6 separate regions of the Homo sapiens genome follow, and all the other regions are linked to region 2. Evidence: promoter capture Hi-C in 16 types of primary human blood cells and fetal thymus (Javierre and others, 2016). All regions are on one chromosome and are shown on one strand. The core of a region is centred on a gene start or on the middle of the fragment in contact, and the rest is flanking DNA. Distances in the headings are between cores, read along the strand shown. Region 1 overlaps NEK10 (NIMA related kinase 10). Region 2 holds the start of NGLY1 (N-glycanase 1). Region 3 overlaps NR1D2 (nuclear receptor subfamily 1 group D member 2). Region 4 overlaps NR1D2 (nuclear receptor subfamily 1 group D member 2). Region 5 holds the start of SLC4A7 (solute carrier family 4 member 7). Region 6 overlaps LOC124906221 (a long non-coding RNA gene).

Region 1 (2,765 bases), core at 148-2,647, 1.6 Mb after region 2:
TTCATTGACTTTGACTCATTAATGAAAAATACTAGAGATAAAATTAAAAATAGAGTTTAAATTCAATGTCACAAATGGTTTTCATTTTAATTTTTAAAAACCTATTAAGGGTTATTCTTACAAGCACATTAGTATATTCATTTAATCCTCAAAACAACCCTCTGAGGTGATTAGTATTATATCTCCAACTTACAGATGAAGAAACTGAGGCACTAAAATGTCAAGGAACTTGGCCAAGATCTCATACCTAGTAATAACAACAGTCATAATAAGAGCAAACATTTACATGGTAGTGCCAGCACTGTTCTAAGTGCTTTCTATACATTACCTAATGTAACACTCCTAATGAATCTGTAAGGTAGCTACCCTTACTGTCCCTAATTTACACATGAAGGAAATGAGGCCCAGTGAGGTTCATTCATTTGCCAAGGTCCCACAGCTGGTAAGTGGCAGAGCAGAGATTTGAAGCCAGGCAGAACCCTTCCTGTTAATCTAATGCAGTACTAACTCTCATTTATTGGTGGCATTTATCCAGCTCTCTATTCACCTAAGTGAATTTTCTAGATAAATATTTACTTCTTTAATAAAGAAATATTATTTTATTCATACTTTTCATATTAACTGTCTTTTGCAAAATATACTAACTACTGTGGAACATTTTCCTCATGGCCCAAGGTCAGTGTTATGGCTGCTGTGCTTTATCTGTCCTGCTTGTAGTTTTTACTTTAATTTTTACAGGAGGGCTTAGGTATCTTTTGTAGACATGAGCCAGTCAATTGTCATTTTGTCACTTTGATTCTGCTGACTGCTTTGAAGCTAGAATCTGTGTCTATCATAACTATTTCTAATATAAGATTTAATAAGCTTTGAATTGATGCCAACTGTATGGACTTAAGTCCATGACTTTCATTATGACCATGGCAGATTTTAGCTGAGATGAGGGGAGTTTGACCTATAGATAAGTAATTATTTTACCAAATAAAAAAACTATGTATTTTATCCAGTGCTCATATTCCTGTTTTTTTGTTTTGGTTTTTTGTGTTTTTTTTTTGTGTTTTTTTTTTTTTTTTTTTTGAGATGGAGTCTTGCTCTATTGCCCACGGTGGAGTGCAGTAGCACGATCTCAGCTCACTGCAACCTCCTCCTCCCAGCTTCAAGTGATTCTCCTGTCTCAGCCTCCAGAGTAGCTGGGATTACCAGCACGCGTCACCACACCCAGCTAATTTTTGTGTTTTTAATAGAGACGGGGTTTCACCATGTTGGCCAGGCCGGTCTCAAACTCCTGACCTCAAGTGATCCTCCCGCCTCGGCCTCCCAAAGTGAGCCATCATGCCTGGCCATTCCTGTTTTTTAAATCATGATACATATCAGGCATATACATGAGTTTGTTTAAAGTTCACTTTCATCTAGAAGATGAAATCTTTCAAAATGTAAGACTTATTCCCAAATCCAAGCCATACACCCTGTCCACAAGCTGATGATTACTATTCCCTCATCCTGCTTTACTTATTTCTCTCCTTGTATTGTGTTCCAAATAGAACACAATACAAATAAATAACATTTACATGCTCCTGAGGCATACTGACCACTGTTCTAAGAAATTTTTCCATATTAATTCATGTAATGTTCACAACCACCCCATTTTACAGATGAGGAAACTGAGGTGCAGAAAGATTAAGTTAACTTGCCAATCCCATATCTAGGATTTGGGGAGCTAGGATTACAACCCAAGCAGTCTGGCTCCAGAATCTGTGTTCTATGAACTCTGCTCTACTGCGCCCTGAGAACTGTCCTAAGAGAATAGTGCCTTTGTTTTGTTCACTGCTGAAGGCCCAGGTGTTCAATAAATATTTGTTGACTGTCTGGATGAACTTCCAGCTCCTCTCTGCCTATCCAAGTGCTCAACCCAGTTCACTTTGACTTCAGCCTCAAAGCTTGACTGGCTGTGACAGGCAGAGTAACATTCCAGGCCCTTCTTCCACCTCCTGAAGACTTTATTTGTTGCACTGTCTTTTGGCTCACCCTCACTGGGCATGGAGCCCCAAACCCATTAGATGGTCAATAAATACTCACTGAATGATTGAGACTCAGAGCTGTATCAGAGCTGTCGCCAAACACAAAAGTTTGTGATCAAGTACTATAACAACAGGATGGTGTCCTAGAAATTGCACTTGACTGAATCAAAAGATTGATTTTTACCTTTTGTAAACTCACCATGACAATTTCACAGCTCTAGACTTCAGTGTGTTCATTTTTTTTTTTTTTTTTTTTTGAGACGGAGTTTCACTCTTGTTGCCCAGGCTGTAGAGCAGTGGCGTGATCTTGGCTCACTGCAACCTCCGCCTCCCGGTTCAAGGGATTCTCCTGCTTCAGCCTCCCAAGTAGCGGGGATTACAGGTGTGCGCCACCATGCCCAGCTAATTTTGTATTTTTTGTAGAGATGGGGTTTCACCATGTGGGCCAGGCTGATCTTGAACTCCTGACCTCAGGTGATCCACCCACCTCATCGTCCCAAAGTGCTGGGATTCACGGCATGAGCCACCATGCCCAGCCCAGTGTGTTCATTTTTAAACGTGAAAGCTTACTATATATAAAGCACTATACCTTTGGTATGAATTATGTACATATAATCTTTAAAAGAATCCTATGAGCTAGGTGCTATTATACCCCCATTGTGCAGATAAAGAATCTGACTAGAGGCTAAGTAATTTGTTATGTGTTACACAATTAAAATGCTAGAGCTAGGATTCAAACCCATGTATGTA
Region 2 (2,700 bases), core at 121-2,620:
ATGTAGCTGTGAACAGGCCACATGTTGCATCTTTCATAGCATCTGCCACAAAATAAGGGCTCAATATATTTTCCCTTCAATTTACTTTAAAAATCATTACCATTGCCTAAATGAAATATTACTGACATGGATTTTAAAAACTGCACATGTAACTAATGTCTAAAATTGGGTCACGTGAAACCTATAACCTTGAAACTGAGAATTTCCTTTTAGACTTCATGACAATATACCAAACACTTAATGCACCAGGGGCTGAGGGGAACAGAGAACCTAATTAATCACGGTGACCTGATAAATGAGGTAACACCCCTAAAGCAAGTGGCTCTCCTTTAACCTCAGTTCCATTTCCCTACCCCCCCACACCATGTCCCTTCAGATCATTTGATCTGAAGAGTTGAGGTGGGTACTTATTCAAAATGAATAATCAAACTTGCCTCCCAATTCCCAAAATCTGCAAGGTCCCTTAGACCTCTAGAAGTGCAATTTTGCTGACAGGAGAATGAAGGAAATTACTCTCATCCAAGGCGATTACCTCCACGAATTCTTAAAGGGTTATGTTACATAGTAGAATCCAGGTATTAATATAAAAACTGTAACTTCAAAATACTATAATGTTTCAATCAACAAAAGTGGGCAGAAAAAAAATTAAAAATTTTAAAACCCACCACTTCAGAAGCATTATGCTTTAGTACTCGGATAGTCTCAACATGGGAAGAAAACATCACTTTGTCAGTGAGTAACTTCTGATAAGTATGTGGAAATGTAAGCCACTCCGCTCGAAAAATGCACGCAGGGGGAATGACACGCGCGGTGCGGTTACCGTTGTGTCCCGATATCTGAGGCCGTTAAACGACGAGAAGAGCGGCAGTGTCTGAAGCACGCCTTCCTACCTCTCCTCCGCCCGGCCCCGCTTCCGGGACTCCAGTTCACCCGCAGCACCCTGACTGCAGGTGCCAAGTCACAACTGCAAAGAAACTTCCTTTTCTCGAGCGGGGGTGGGACTTGGCCGGGTCCCGAGGCCCCTGGCCGGCGGGCTCGGACGTTAGGAGCAGAACCAGCTCCAGGTCCCGGTCTGTCCGGGCGTCGCTGCCCTCTGAAGCTCAGGCCGGACGCCCCAGTCCCTGGCCGAACAAGGTGCCGCGGCCCACCCACCCCGGTACCCGCCGTCCGACCCCGTTGCCCTGCACCTGAGGATGTTGTCAGCATAGGTGAGCAGCAGCTTGGAGGCCTCCAAAAAGGTCTCCGGGGTGTTCTGGCAGAGCTCAGCCACGGCCGGGGACGCCGAGCCTGAGGAGCTGCCCAATGCCGCCGCCGCCATGCTTGAGCGCCAGCGGGCGCCGCCGCCGCCCCTCGCTCTCCGCGTCCCACACTGAGCAGGCGCCTCAGCGCGCAGCAGCTACCGCAGCCACCGGCAGGGGCGGGGTCCTCGGCCGGCAGGGGCGGGGTCCTCGGCCGGCAGGGGCGGGGTCCTCGGCCGGCAGGGGCGGGGTCCTCGGCCGGCAGGGGCGGGGTCTTCGGCCGGCAGGGGCGGGGTCGGGGGCCTGGGGCGGGGTCGGGGACCGGGGCCAGGAGCGGGGGAGCTCGGCTGGGAGCTACGGCTGCCCCTTCGCGGGGGGCAAGGGGCTGTTCGGAAGAAGGTGGGGGGCCTCGGCCGGCAGGGGCGAGGTGCTTCGACCCAGAGTTGGGGCCTGGTCGTACAGGTTGGGAAGGGGTTCCGCAGGGAGAGGCGGGGCCTGGGCTCCGGGGCTGAGGGGTGTGGGCCTGGAGGAGGGGGATGTCGAGTCCTTTAGGACGGAGGAGCTCGGCTGGAGGGGAGGCCGGCTTTGGTCTAGAGGTATCGGGCGAATGGTGCTGGCACGTGCCTCTCAGAAACCCGGATCCCTTTGCGCTCCGGGGCCAGCCTAATTGATCCAGCTATTAAGGTGGAGAAACCGCATGTACCTCCCTCCTTTCCCCACAAATAAAACCACCTTAGAGCCTTCTCTTCGCAGATTGTCAGGACGTTCTACATAGATGTGGATGAAAGACTACAGAAGGAAGGAGCAACAAACGTCAAAAACAAAACCATGGCTATAAACTCTGCTGGGTTTGTTATATGGATTCTTTTCAGAATTTGGCTAATGACTGAAAATCTAAGTTCCAGCTCAACTAGTATATGATTCCTCTGTAAGGAAGTGTATTTTTAAACCATAGGTTGCGACATAATAATGGGTTGTGGATTCGGTTTACCGCGTGGTGACCAGCGTAAAACACATGCATAATAATTACGCAATATTATAGAATGTCGGGGGCGGGAAGGGAATAAAAATTTGCATCCCACACAGTAAGGGTAAGTAATATTTTGTGACTTGTTTTTTAGGTAGATCATGTGATCAAGGTCTTTTATTCCTCTTAGAAGATGCATCCCTTACTACTTTAATCCAGTCTCTTCCCCACCATGTTCTTGAAAGTGTACTTTACCAGTGGCTTCCTTCTTTGCAGAAATTCCTTTTCAACCTCACGAAGTATTTTTCTTGACTTTATTTCTTAAGATAAGTGATTTGCCTGAATAACCTCTTTTAAATTTCTTGATGTTTCATCTGTTTACTTTTAAGAATTGAAATTTTCTTCCAGAATCTCCGAACAAGACCCTAAGCTATGACATCCAGTTCAATGACTATTCGTCTCCCAAATATACGTACGCTTTTAATAAATATGTAA
Region 3 (2,700 bases), core at 92-2,591, 1.8 Mb before region 2:
GTTATAGCTAGTGGAAAAGGATAGTCATCTGCAGGGCCTCCCAGTTTCATCAGTCCTCTCTTTAGTCATGCTGGCTTATTTCCAGACATTAGATTACACCTTGACCTCCCTTCTCCAGTAATTTACATGGAGATAAAAATAATGTCTATTTTATAAAATAAGACCGATTTGGCTGGGCATGGTGGCTCATGCCTGTAATCCTAGCAATCTGGGAGGCTGAGATGGGCAGATCACCTGAGGTCAGGAGTTCGAGACCAGCCTGGCTAACATGTGAAACCCTGTCTCTACTAAAAATACAAAAATTAGCCGGGTGTGGTGGCGGGTGCCTGTAATCCCAGCTACTTGGGAGACTGAGGCAGGAGAATCGCTTGAACCGAGGAGGCGGAGGTGGCAGTGAGTCGAGATCACACCATTGCACTCCATCCTGGGTGACAGAGCGAAACTCCGTCTGAAAAAAAAAAACAACAAAAAACACACCATTTATTTTTGTGTCACCCTATTTAAAAAATGTCTCTTTTGATGATTTAAACAGTCTTCAATTCCCCACTTAGATATTGCAACCTTGGATGTGTTTGCCCCTATTGATTTCTGCCCTCTTTAGTATGATCCTCAGCAGTCACAATCATGTGTGTGAAACATTGCTCCTAATAACATAGGTGTTTCCCCAGTTGGCCTATAAGGCATTTTAGGGAAAGGACCATGCTGTTCTCTGGAGCCCTGACACCTAGGACACAATTGGAATTTTAGTGCTTCAGTTAGATCTACTCTACCACCCTTGGAGTAGAAATTATTTATAACACTTTTAAAATGAGGGAAACTAAAGCTTCTTGGTGATAAAATGTTTTGTTCTAAGTCACAAGGCAGAAAAGTACAGTCATGACTTGAAGTCAAACATAATCTCCAGGATGGTGGACAGAGGAAGTGTGAGGGTTTTGATGATGGACAAGTGTAGAAAATGGGTAAGAAGACCCCAATATATGCAGGAATATCAGTGCTTCCTAGCAGTACAAAATTGGATATTGACTTAAGGCTTGTCTGAAGTTGACCACTGGGTAAGCCCTAGCCTGGGAACCTGGCCCAGGTCCAGGGTCCCTTTCAACTGAAAATAGAGAAGACTGCTTCAGCTAATTTTAGCTCAGGGTTTCAAAGAGGTACATACTGCCTGTTTCTTGGAGGTGTTGGGACTTGCTGGTTTGGGGATTTTTACTCTTCTTACTTTATCATCAAAAACAGTGTATGAAAAAAGCACTTATGAATGCCATTTCATTTCAGTCTTGTAATAAGTGGCAGATATTCCAATTTTATAGAAGACCACTCAGGTTTAGAAAGATTGAAAGTGACTTGCTTGCTCAGGTCTTCTCACCAAATAAGTTTGTACTCTGGAATTGGACAACCTTGACTTTAAACTTTGGCCTGCCACTTAGTGGCTGACTTATCCTCTCTGAGCTCCTTGTTTAAAAAATGATTTGATGAAAGTTAATTCACAGAGTTCTTCTTGTGAGGATGAAATTGTGTCATTTTATTCCTGACATCCAGTAGGTACTTGGTGACTTGTAGTTTCACTTTCCTTTCTTCATTAGGTTGAGGAACTACTAGATGTACTCCTTTTCTTCTAAGAAATTAAAATTTAACCCATTTGGGTTGCTATCAGTCAGGTTCATAGATGGGTGTCTAGTAGCAAGAATAGATGCCAAGACAACTAAATCAATATTGAAGGTCTTGCTAGGAGAATGCAGCTACTTCTAGATGGGTCTTCTTTGATTTTCTGGTGCCTGGCACAGATGCTTGTTTTCTTAAGACAGGAATTGGATCTTCGCTGGATTGATAATAGCCCAGTAGTTTCTTTTAGGTTGGATATTGAAGCTTTTGCAAAGGAAATTGTTTTTTGGTTAATTAATTACGATACAGTCCATTGCCCCGTCAGTGCTTGCAACCAATTTTTAAGCCATCTGCATAGCTCTAATTTCTTTTCTTTTCTCTTTCTTTTTCTTTTTTTTTTTTTTTTTTTGAGATGGAGTTTTCACTCTTGTTGCCCAGGCTGGAGTGCAATGGTGCCATCTCGGCTCACCGCAACCTCCGCCTCCCGGGTTCAAGTGATTCTCCTGTCTCAGCCTCCTGAGGAGCTGGGATTACAGGCATGCGCCACCACACCTGGCTAATTTTGTATTTTTAGTAGAGATGGGGTTTCTCCATGTTGGTCAGGCTGGTCTTGGACTCCCGACCTCAGGTGATCCGCCTGCCTCGGCCTCCCAAAGTGCTGAGGTTACAGGCGTGAGCCACTGTGCCCGGCCAGCTCTAATTTCTAAAAGTTTATTTCTTAGCTAAGGTAGTCAGCAGATCTTGTGAACATAAATGACTGAAAATGGGGGCCCTAGGAAAGTCTTACTTCCAAGGAAAAACATCACTTTCTTATCTTTTATTTTCCTGAGATGTTAGATGTGAATTTAGTACTTAAGACACTATTTTAGAGAAGACAAATAGCTGTGAGATCTTCCTTTGGAATTTCATTGAGGACTAAGAATATTTGTCTTTGTAAAGTGTCCTATTGTGAGTGGAGACATCTGTGAAAAAGTAGCAGTGTGCTAATACCTGGAATTTTTAATGTGGACTTAAGATCTCTAAAGTTATATAAAGACAGCACAATGGTTTTATCCAGTAACATGACACTGGCTAGGTTTCTAGGTTAAGTTGGTTTCTCTT
Region 4 (2,700 bases), core at 141-2,640, 1.8 Mb before region 2:
GTTACTTGAAAACATTAAAAGTATCAAGAGGTATTAGTGTGGTTTGTTGCAGAGAAATGTGAATTAGTTGTAGGCTTTAGTCCAGTTCTGCCATTGAATTATGTGGGTAACTTGGGTAAGTAACTTTACTCTTTTGGGTCTTGGATTCCTTCCTCATCCTGTCAAAGGAAGGGGTTGTACCATGTGAGCCTAGTGTGGTGTCTGGCATAGAAGAGCTACTCAGTCACTGTTTGAATGAGTGAGCAAGATTTTTGAGTTTCTAATGTTTATTTATATGAGTCATTTATGATGTTTCCCAATGCCCCTGCCATCTTGCATTAATATTACAGTTATTTCTGACAGTACCCATTAAGGCAGAGATTGTTACTCCCAATAACAAATGGAAATTGAGGTACTTTCCTGGGTATGTCTAAGTAAGTGCCAGCTATTTTTAGGCATCATTTTATTGTATAACATTTGGGAATTTTTTAGTATTTGGTTATGACTTTGTTTCCCATTTGCTTCCTACTGTGTAAAGGGCACTGTGCTAGGCATTGTGAGAGTTATAAGTTACGGCCTCTGATTATGTAGCTAAACCATAAATTAGTAGCTCTTGAAAGAGAACAAGTTCTTGGCCAGGCGCCAGGGGTGCACGCCTGTAATCCCAGCACTTTGGGAGGCTGAGGTGGGTGGATCACCTGAGGTCAGGAATTTGAGACCAGCCTGGCCAACATGGTGAAACCCCCTTCTCTACTAAAAATACAAAAATTAGCCGGGCATGGTGGCACGTGCCTGTAGTCCCAGCTACTCAGGAGGCTGAAGCAGGAGAATCGCTTGAACCTGGGAGGCAGAGGTGGCCGTGAGCCGAGATCACACCAGCTTGCATTCCAGCTTGGGTGACAGAGCGAGACTCCGTGTTAAAAAACAAAAACAAAAACAACAAAAAAAAAACAAGTTATTTGTATAATTTTGAGGACCTGTACCTCAGTGGAATAAAGACTTGCCATTTGGTAACATAATTTGGCTACCTTTTCTGACCAGCTCTACCTGGATAACTAAAAATGTGTATATGACGTGGGAGTAGTATGAAAGGAATATGTCAATAAGGGATATCTGTTTTATAGCTAATTTATAATGCCTCTTGCATTTTACCTATCATTTGCAGAATCTCTTGATAAGTAATTAGTATTGGTTTGAGTTGACATCAGATTAATCGATTATTTTGAAACCACAGATAATCAATACTTGTTAAATTATTTATCTGATGAATATGCCGTACCTATTAGGTGCTCAGGGGGAGACAGAAAGCTTTAAGGCACAAGCTTGCTAAGTGTTTTCATTCTTTTTGGAGAGATGAAACTACACAAAGAGCTTTATGCTACTAAACCGTGTAGTTCTCTGTCTGAGGTAAGCTGGAGTTGTAGAAAGGAAGGTGAAATCATCTTGGAAGGCTCTGTGGGGAAAGATAGAAGTGGAGCTGGAATTTGAAGGTTGAATTATTAAGCTTTCCCAGTGAAGAAGAGATGGAAAGGCATGAGAGAGTACGAGATAGGGCCGGGGAAGGGTCAGGTGGCCAAAGCCTGGAGTGTACATCAAGGAGGAAGGGGGACAAAAGCCTTCAGAGTTAGGGGAGCACCAGGTTATGGACTAACAGCTATGAGAACTAAGCGGGGAGATTTTAACCAAAATATGGGGCAGAAGAAAGTCTGTGTACCTTCTTAAGTAGGAGAGTGATCTGGTTGAACAAAGTGATGTTTAACATTAATTCTGCATTTTTATTGTGGTGGGCAGATTAGATAGGTAAGTCATTAGTGCTAGAGAGTTAGGTTGAGAAGCTTTTGAAATGACATCAGGTGGGGTGAACTCTTCTAAAATAAATTAAGGCAGGTGAGATGAAGTAGAAGGGCCAACTTCCCAGAGGTAGTTCAGAGGAAGAAATGATGGCAAAGGGGTAGAGGGAAACTCTGTATGCCAGGAACGAACCTTGTTATTTCAGGATAGGAACATGATTTTTAGTTTGATTTAATCTGTTTTTGAAAAAGCCTTTTTTCTGATTATAAATTTAATATGGGTTCTTTGAAAATGTAGAAAATATTAAAATGGAAAAAAAAGGTTATAATATCACTACCAGAAAAGATCACTATTAATATTGGGGAGTCTTTATCCATTTACCTATCCATCTATCCATTCGCCTATCCATCTATCCATTTACCTGTTTGTTTATATAGGATATATTTTAAAAATGGAAAATTAAGTGTGAAAGACTGATTGTAAAAGAATACAGTGCATTCTAATTTTTGTTATGTCACTGTATGAACATATACAAGTACACATATATGAAGTTTCATGTCAAATTTTAATCCTTACCACTTAAAAATTACTAGCTGTTTTTTGTTGTTGTTGTTGTTTGTTTTTTTATTTTTATTTTTGGAGATGGAGTTTCTCTCTTGCTGCCCAGGCTGGAGTGCAATGGCATGATCTCTGTTCACCGCAACCTCCCTCTCCTAGGTTCAAGCAATTCTCCTGCCTCAGCCTCCTGAGTAGCTGGGATTACAGGCATGCACTACTACACCCAACTAATTTTGTATTTTCAGTAGACAGGGGGTTTCTCCATGTTGGTCAGGCTAGTCTCGAACTCCCAACCTCAGGTGATCCGCCCGCCTCGGCCTCCCAAAGTGCTGGGATTACAGGCATGAGCCACCGTGCCCGGCCAAACAGCAG
Region 5 (2,700 bases), core at 128-2,627, 1.7 Mb after region 2:
ACAACTCTTGAATAAAAACATAGGAGAAGTAATTTTCCTCTTAGTTGTGAAAGACCGGACAATTTTCCCTGCAACCTTCCCGCCTTTGCTGGTTGCATAGTAAAAATTAGAAGTAGGAAAATTTAGAATACTTCCATCTCCTTTGAGTCACGAACTTGGAAAGGAGAAAGAGACAACTGCGGGGACGCATGTGCTCTAAAGAAAGCAGGAAGTCCGCTTCTTGAGCATGGGCCGTTCACCCATCATCACAAATGGGAACACCGGCCTTAAGTCCATCCCCATTCTCTTCTAACCCTGAAATCAAAGCCAGTCTCAGTAGGAAACGCGATCTTGCTAGCTGAGTTAGAGAAGGAGCACCAGACAGCTCAGGACACCCTCCTCCTTCTACTTGGCCTGCGGCAGGAGGATACTCCCCGGGTCCCAGCCAGTGGAGAAGGCGGACCCGGCAGGCAACAGCGAAAGAGCCTTGGCCGGGAAGGAGCGCGGCCAGTCCACGCGGCCGGAGAACTCACCGAACAAAGCGCACCGCGGAGCGGGAGGGGACACTCGGAAAGAGGGGGAAAGATTCAACCAGCTCTTCACCACTGCCTGGGGCTAGAGACAGGTGGAGCCGCCGTCCTCCTTAGAAGGAGAAGAAAGATAGGTTTTCGAGGGCTAATCTGAAACTCCTGCGCCAAGGCAACCGGAACCGGGACCCCGCCTGGGGAGCGCGCTAAGAAACAGGGGAGGCGAGCGCTGAGGGAAGGGATGGATGGTCGGGGTCACAGGCGGCCTCTGCGGGGATGTCGGGGTCCCGCCTGAGCCGCGCAGAGGATGCCCGCGGCGCGCCGCCGGCCGCCCCGACTCGGGCCTCCCGAGCGCAGCCGCTGGCCCCCTCCCACCCGCGCCCCAGGCCGCCACACAAAGGGGATGGCGAGGCGCGCCGGCCGCCGGGAGGTGGAGGGGCGACGGGCCTGGGACGAGGTGGCCGAGCCGCGACGCCCGCCGCGCCCCCCGCCTTTGTCTGCCTCGCCCCGCGCCCTCCCCCTGCGGAGGAGCCCCACCGCCGCGGCGCCCTCACCCTGCTCGTTACCCGGGTGAGTAGCGGTCTCATCTGCTCGCCGGCCCCATCAGCCTCCATGGCCGGCCGGCCAGCCCGTGACGGCCGCTACGGTACTGCCCCGCGCGGTCTGCCTGCTTCTGCCGCTGCCCCTGCCGCCGCCGCCGAGCCCCCGGCGCGCGAGGACAAACGTGGGTGCGTCCGTGCGCGAGGTGTGCGCGCGTGGGGAGAGCCGGGCGCCGGGCGCGGGAGACGCGGGGCGTGCGTGTGCGCGCTGCGACTGCTGGGCTGGCTTTAGTAGGAGAGCGAGGCCGCGGCGTGGAACCTGAAGCTAGAACTGAGCGAACCGGCGGACCGAGCGGGAAGGAGGAGAGCCGCGTAGGAGGAGGGGTTCGGGGGCGGAGCCGCAAACCGTGACGAGCCCGGCGCCGGGGCCAGGCAAGACACGCCCCCCCGCCCCGCCTCCTCGGGTCACGCCCCCTGCCAGTCTGGCACCGCCAGCCTCCTCAGCGCGCCCGCGGGCCGCGCCGCTAGGCCACCGGGAGATGGGGCGGGAGGGAGGCGGGACGGACATTTGTCCCAGCCAATCGGCGGCTGGCGGACTTCCGCTCGCCTCCCCCGTGCCACCTCCTCAGGACGCACCGCCCCTCTTTGTATAAGCTTAATTGACCGAAGCTGAGCGTCTAACTAGTTTTTCAAGTCGGAAGCTCCCCTGACGTTCTCAATGGGGTGGGGGGTCACCACCTCCCTTGGCTCCTAACTACATTCTTTAGAGGCTGCAGGGAAGGAGGACGCCACCTCTGTCAAGGACGCCCAGGATAACCCTCCGAAGCAACTAACGAGTCTTCACGACTCCTGGAAGTTTCTTTTCTGTCAATCCAGTAGGCACGAACCCCAACTCAGGGACCGTGAAAGATGGGGTACACTTGACCAGGTGTCCTCCTGTGCTTGCTCGCCCACTGAGCACCACGACAGCTGCCACTTTTTTTTTTTTTTTTTTTTTTTTTGAGACAGAGTCTTGCACCAGCCCAGGTTGGAGTGCAATGGCATGATCTCGGCTCACTGCAACCTCCGCTGCCTGGGTTCAAGCTATTCTCCTGCCTCAGCCTCCTGAGTAGCTGGGACTACAGACGCGCGCCACCACGCCCGGCAACTTTTTGTATTTTTAGTAGAGACGGGGTTTCACCATGTTGGTTAGGCTGGTCTCGAACTCCTGAGCTAAGGTGATCCACCAGCCTCAGCCTCCCAAAGTGCTGGGATTACAGGCATGAGCCACCACACCCGGCCAGCTGCCACATTATTGAGTCCACCCTGTAGGCCGTCTCTCAAATATCCCTTCTGTAACGGGATGATTGTAATACCTGCCATGCAGGCTCATTGAAGGATTAAGGGGATTTATATTCATAAAAGTGCCTGGCACATAGCATGCTGATAATTTTCATTATTGTTAACAGGTTTCTCTTGAGTGTTTCATAAAGATGAGAAATTTGGCCGGGCGCGGTGGCTTACGCCTGTAATTACAGCAGTTTGGGAGGCCGAGGCGGGCGGATCACCTGAGATCAGGAGTTCGAGACCAGCCTGACCAACATGACGAAACCCCGTGTCTACTAAAAATACAAAAATTAGCCAGGCATGGTGGCAGGCACCTGTAATCCCAGCTA
Region 6 (2,700 bases), core at 145-2,644, 1.9 Mb after region 2:
TTTTGAAATATTTCAGAATTTGACTCTTCCAGACAGCTGTCTTTGTGGCAGGCATGATCCTAGGTCTCTGGGGACACAGAGGAGAACAAAACAGAAAATATCCTTAGCTCCTAGAGCTGACTAACATCCTGCTCTCAGCTCAAGGGGGTAAATACCTGTGGCATTTCTACTCACAATCAATTGGTTTGTTTATTGACTGTTGCCAAATTTCGGGGGTTTTTTAAAACTGAACTTCCTTGACAGTAACAAAGCAAGACTTTGTATTTATTAATATACTTTAAAAAATTAAGGTGGAGAAGTTTTTTCAATATGTTTTAACGTATCCGCAATGAGAACACATGCGCAAGCAGTCTATTGAGAACTCAGAGGTCAACAAAAGAAGGTTGAACAAATGTTTGGATTGTCAGTGTCATCCTGCAGATGGATCTGCTCTCCAGATGAATTTTTAATACAATCTCAGGTCCTTTTCATTGGAAAATTATCTTATTTTACACTGATACATTTATCTATGCATCTATTTTTTTTTTATTTTTTTAGAGATGGGGTCTTGCTCTGTCACCAAGTTGAAGTGCAGTGGCATGATCATGCATCCTCGAACTCCTATGCTCAAGCAATCTTCCCACCTCAGCCTCCCAAGTAGCTGGAACTACAGGCACGCACCATCATTCTTGGCTGATGTTAATTTTTGTAGAGACAGGGTCTCACTATTTACCCAGGCTAGTCCCGATCTCCTGGCCTCAAGCGATTCTCCTGCCTTGGCTTCCCAAAGTGCTGAGATTATAGGTATGAGCCACAGTGCCTGGATGACTTTTTATTGTTTTAAAATTTTTTATATACATTTATTTTTCCATATTATGAATGTAAAATGTAAGTAAGTTTTTAAGGGCAGAAGACAGAAGAGAGAGTACATGTGTTTTCAGTTCTTTGGTCTGCTAATTGTGTGAACTCAGAGGTGACAGGCAAATAGTTAAAAACAGGTGTGGCTAGACCCTGACTATGCAGAACAAGTATGGATTTATGGGCTCATACCAGCTGAATATGAGGCCTGGAGTGACATCAGAAAATGGTTTCCTCTCAGCTAAAAGGGGCCTATATTGAATATTCAAAAATTAGTAGTCTGCAGACAAAGATGAGCCTCAAAGTTTTAAGCCCAGTATTATTGATTAGAGTACGCATTCTCTAGTTTGCCATAGGCCTCGCCACTCTCTATTGCGCACACCCTATTTTCACAATTGCTTTGCATACATTTATATAACCAGCCATGACACATAGATGTCTTGCCTATGAAGGTATCTGAGTTTTCAGTCCTTGAATTGGAAGCTTTCCTTGGCTCCCCTATCAGAGCTCTGACATTTCTGGTTCTTGTTCTTTCTCAACACCCTCTTCGTGTTGTGCTGTTTCACCAGGACTTAGCAAGTGCCGTGGGAGACAAGGGTCTTAAATATAGTGTATTTAATTTAGATGTCTCTTAAGCTTCATCCTCTATTTGCTCAATGATTTGGATTCTGGTTTCTGTTCAATTTTATCAGTGGGGGAGAGGGGTTTGGTGGGGATGCGGGGAGAATCAGTTATGAATTTTTAAACAGATTTGAAATGAGATATTTAGATAGAAATGAAAATATGGGCACAGAAATGTCTCCCCTCTCCTTGTCCATCTAGAGAAAGGCAATCTTGTAATCATTTAGACCCAGTTGTCTCCAGATGGTTGTGTGATGTGTCACTCTAAGACAGAAGGCAGGACTCAACTCCAGGACCTTAAAGAATTATTGGTCTGATTTGGCTCACTTCTTTTTTTTTTTTGCGACAGAGTCTCACCCTATCCCCCAGGCTGGAGTACAGTGGCATGATCTTGGCTCACTGCAACCTCTGCCTCCTGGGTTCAAGCGATTCTCATGCCTCAGCCTCCCGAGTAGTTGGGATTACAGGTGCCTGCTACCACACCCGGCTAATTTCTGTATTTTTAGTAGAGATGGGATTTCACTATGTTGGTCAGGCTAGTCTCGAACTCCTGACCTCAGGTGATCTGCCCACCTCGGCCTCCCAAAGTGTTGGGATTACAGGCATGAGCCACCATGCCTGGCCAGCTCACTTCTTAGGGTATAGTTTTGGGGGCTAGGGATGAAAAGAGAAGGGGGAAACCATCTAGTTTCATATCTTTTTTTTTGAGACAGGGTCTTGCTCTGTCACCCAGGCTTGAGTGCAGTGGCACCATCTGAGCTTGCTGCAACCTCCATTTCCCAGGTTCAAGCTGAGCCACCAAGCCCATCAAATTTTTGTATTTTCAGGAGAGATGGAGTTTCACCGTGTTGATCAGGCTGGTCTCAAACTCCTGGCCTCATGCGATTCGCCTGCCTTGGCCTCCCAAAGTGCTGGGATTATAGGCATGCACCTCCGTGCCCAGCCTCTCATTTCATATCATTTAGAATTCTGTTGTTGTGACCTGAGCCATCACATGGGACAGCCCAAGGGCATCCTCAAATTAAAAGAGTGTTTCTCAAAGTGTATTTTCTGCACCACCTGACAATAGCATATTGGTCGGGCATGGTGGCTCATGCCTGATATCTCAGCACTTTGGGAGGCCAAGGCAGGCGGGAAGACCACTTGAAGCCAGGAGTTCAAGCCCAGCTTGGGCAACAATGTGAGGACCTGTCTCTACAAAAAATAATGTTTTAAAAATTTGCTGGGCACAGCAGCACACAC

The links. Contacts are between HindIII fragments. The CHiCAGO score rates a contact against its expected background, and 5 or more counts as called.
Region 1: a fragment that was not itself captured here is called in contact with the fragment with the promoter of NGLY1 in region 2 in 1 of 17 cell types (non-activated CD4 T cells); the score reaches 5.8 in non-activated CD4 T cells.
Region 3: a fragment that was not itself captured here is called in contact with the fragment with the promoter of NGLY1 in region 2 in 8 of 17 cell types (activated CD4 T cells, total CD4 T cells, total B cells and 5 more); the score reaches 13.7 in activated CD4 T cells.
Region 4: a contact is called between a fragment that was not itself captured here and the fragment with the promoter of NGLY1 in region 2, in 1 of 17 cell types (total B cells). The highest score is 5.5, in total B cells.
Region 5: the fragment with the promoter of SLC4A7 here is called in contact with the fragment with the promoter of NGLY1 in region 2 in 4 of 17 cell types (fetal thymus, non-activated CD4 T cells, activated CD4 T cells and 1 more); the score reaches 16.2 in fetal thymus.
Region 6: a contact is called between a fragment that was not itself captured here and the fragment with the promoter of NGLY1 in region 2, in 1 of 17 cell types (non-activated CD4 T cells). The highest score is 6.0, in non-activated CD4 T cells.

The regions. Positions count from the first base shown.
Region 1 is chr3:27,364,557-27,367,321 of GRCh38, forward strand. All of the region lies in intron 1 of NEK10 (NIMA related kinase 10), which reads right to left. Among named protein-coding and RNA genes, the nearest start is that of NEK10, 3.4 kb to the right of the region's middle. The HindIII fragment of the contact is 1,070 bases long and covers 863-1,932 here.
Region 2 is chr3:25,782,073-25,784,772 of GRCh38, forward strand. NGLY1 (N-glycanase 1) reads right to left here and starts at 1,371. Exons shown (of 12, transcript NM_018297.4): 1 at 1,188-1,371. The coding sequence starts at 1,318. RefSeq lists enhancers at 721-800, 961-1,010 and a silencer at 1,321-1,560. The HindIII fragment of the contact is 11,918 bases long and covers 1-2,700 here.
Region 3 is chr3:23,948,914-23,951,613 of GRCh38, forward strand. All of the region lies in intron 1 of NR1D2 (nuclear receptor subfamily 1 group D member 2), which reads left to right. Among named protein-coding and RNA genes, the nearest start is that of NR1D2, 5.0 kb to the left of the region's middle. RefSeq lists a silencer at 1-119. The HindIII fragment of the contact is 1,040 bases long and covers 822-1,861 here.
Region 4 is chr3:23,968,390-23,971,089 of GRCh38, forward strand. All of the region lies in intron 7 of NR1D2 (nuclear receptor subfamily 1 group D member 2), which reads left to right. Among named protein-coding and RNA genes, the nearest start is that of NR1D2, 24 kb to the left of the region's middle. RefSeq lists a silencer at 455-655. The HindIII fragment of the contact is 182 bases long and covers 1,300-1,481 here.
Region 5 is chr3:27,483,007-27,485,706 of GRCh38, forward strand. It overlaps SLC4A7 (solute carrier family 4 member 7), which reads right to left and starts at 1,378. Exons shown (of 26, transcript NM_001321103.2): 1 at 1,061-1,378. The coding sequence starts at 1,120. RefSeq lists enhancers at 117-176, 337-546, 577-636, 652-1,428, 1,907-2,036 and silencers at 807-876, 907-1,266, 1,297-1,776. The HindIII fragment of the contact is 9,889 bases long and covers 1-1,697 here.
Region 6 is chr3:27,643,422-27,646,121 of GRCh38, forward strand. All of the region lies in intron 1 of LOC124906221 (a long non-coding RNA gene), which reads left to right. Among named protein-coding and RNA genes, the nearest start is that of LINC02084, 68 kb to the right of the region's middle. The HindIII fragment of the contact is 153 bases long and covers 1,319-1,471 here.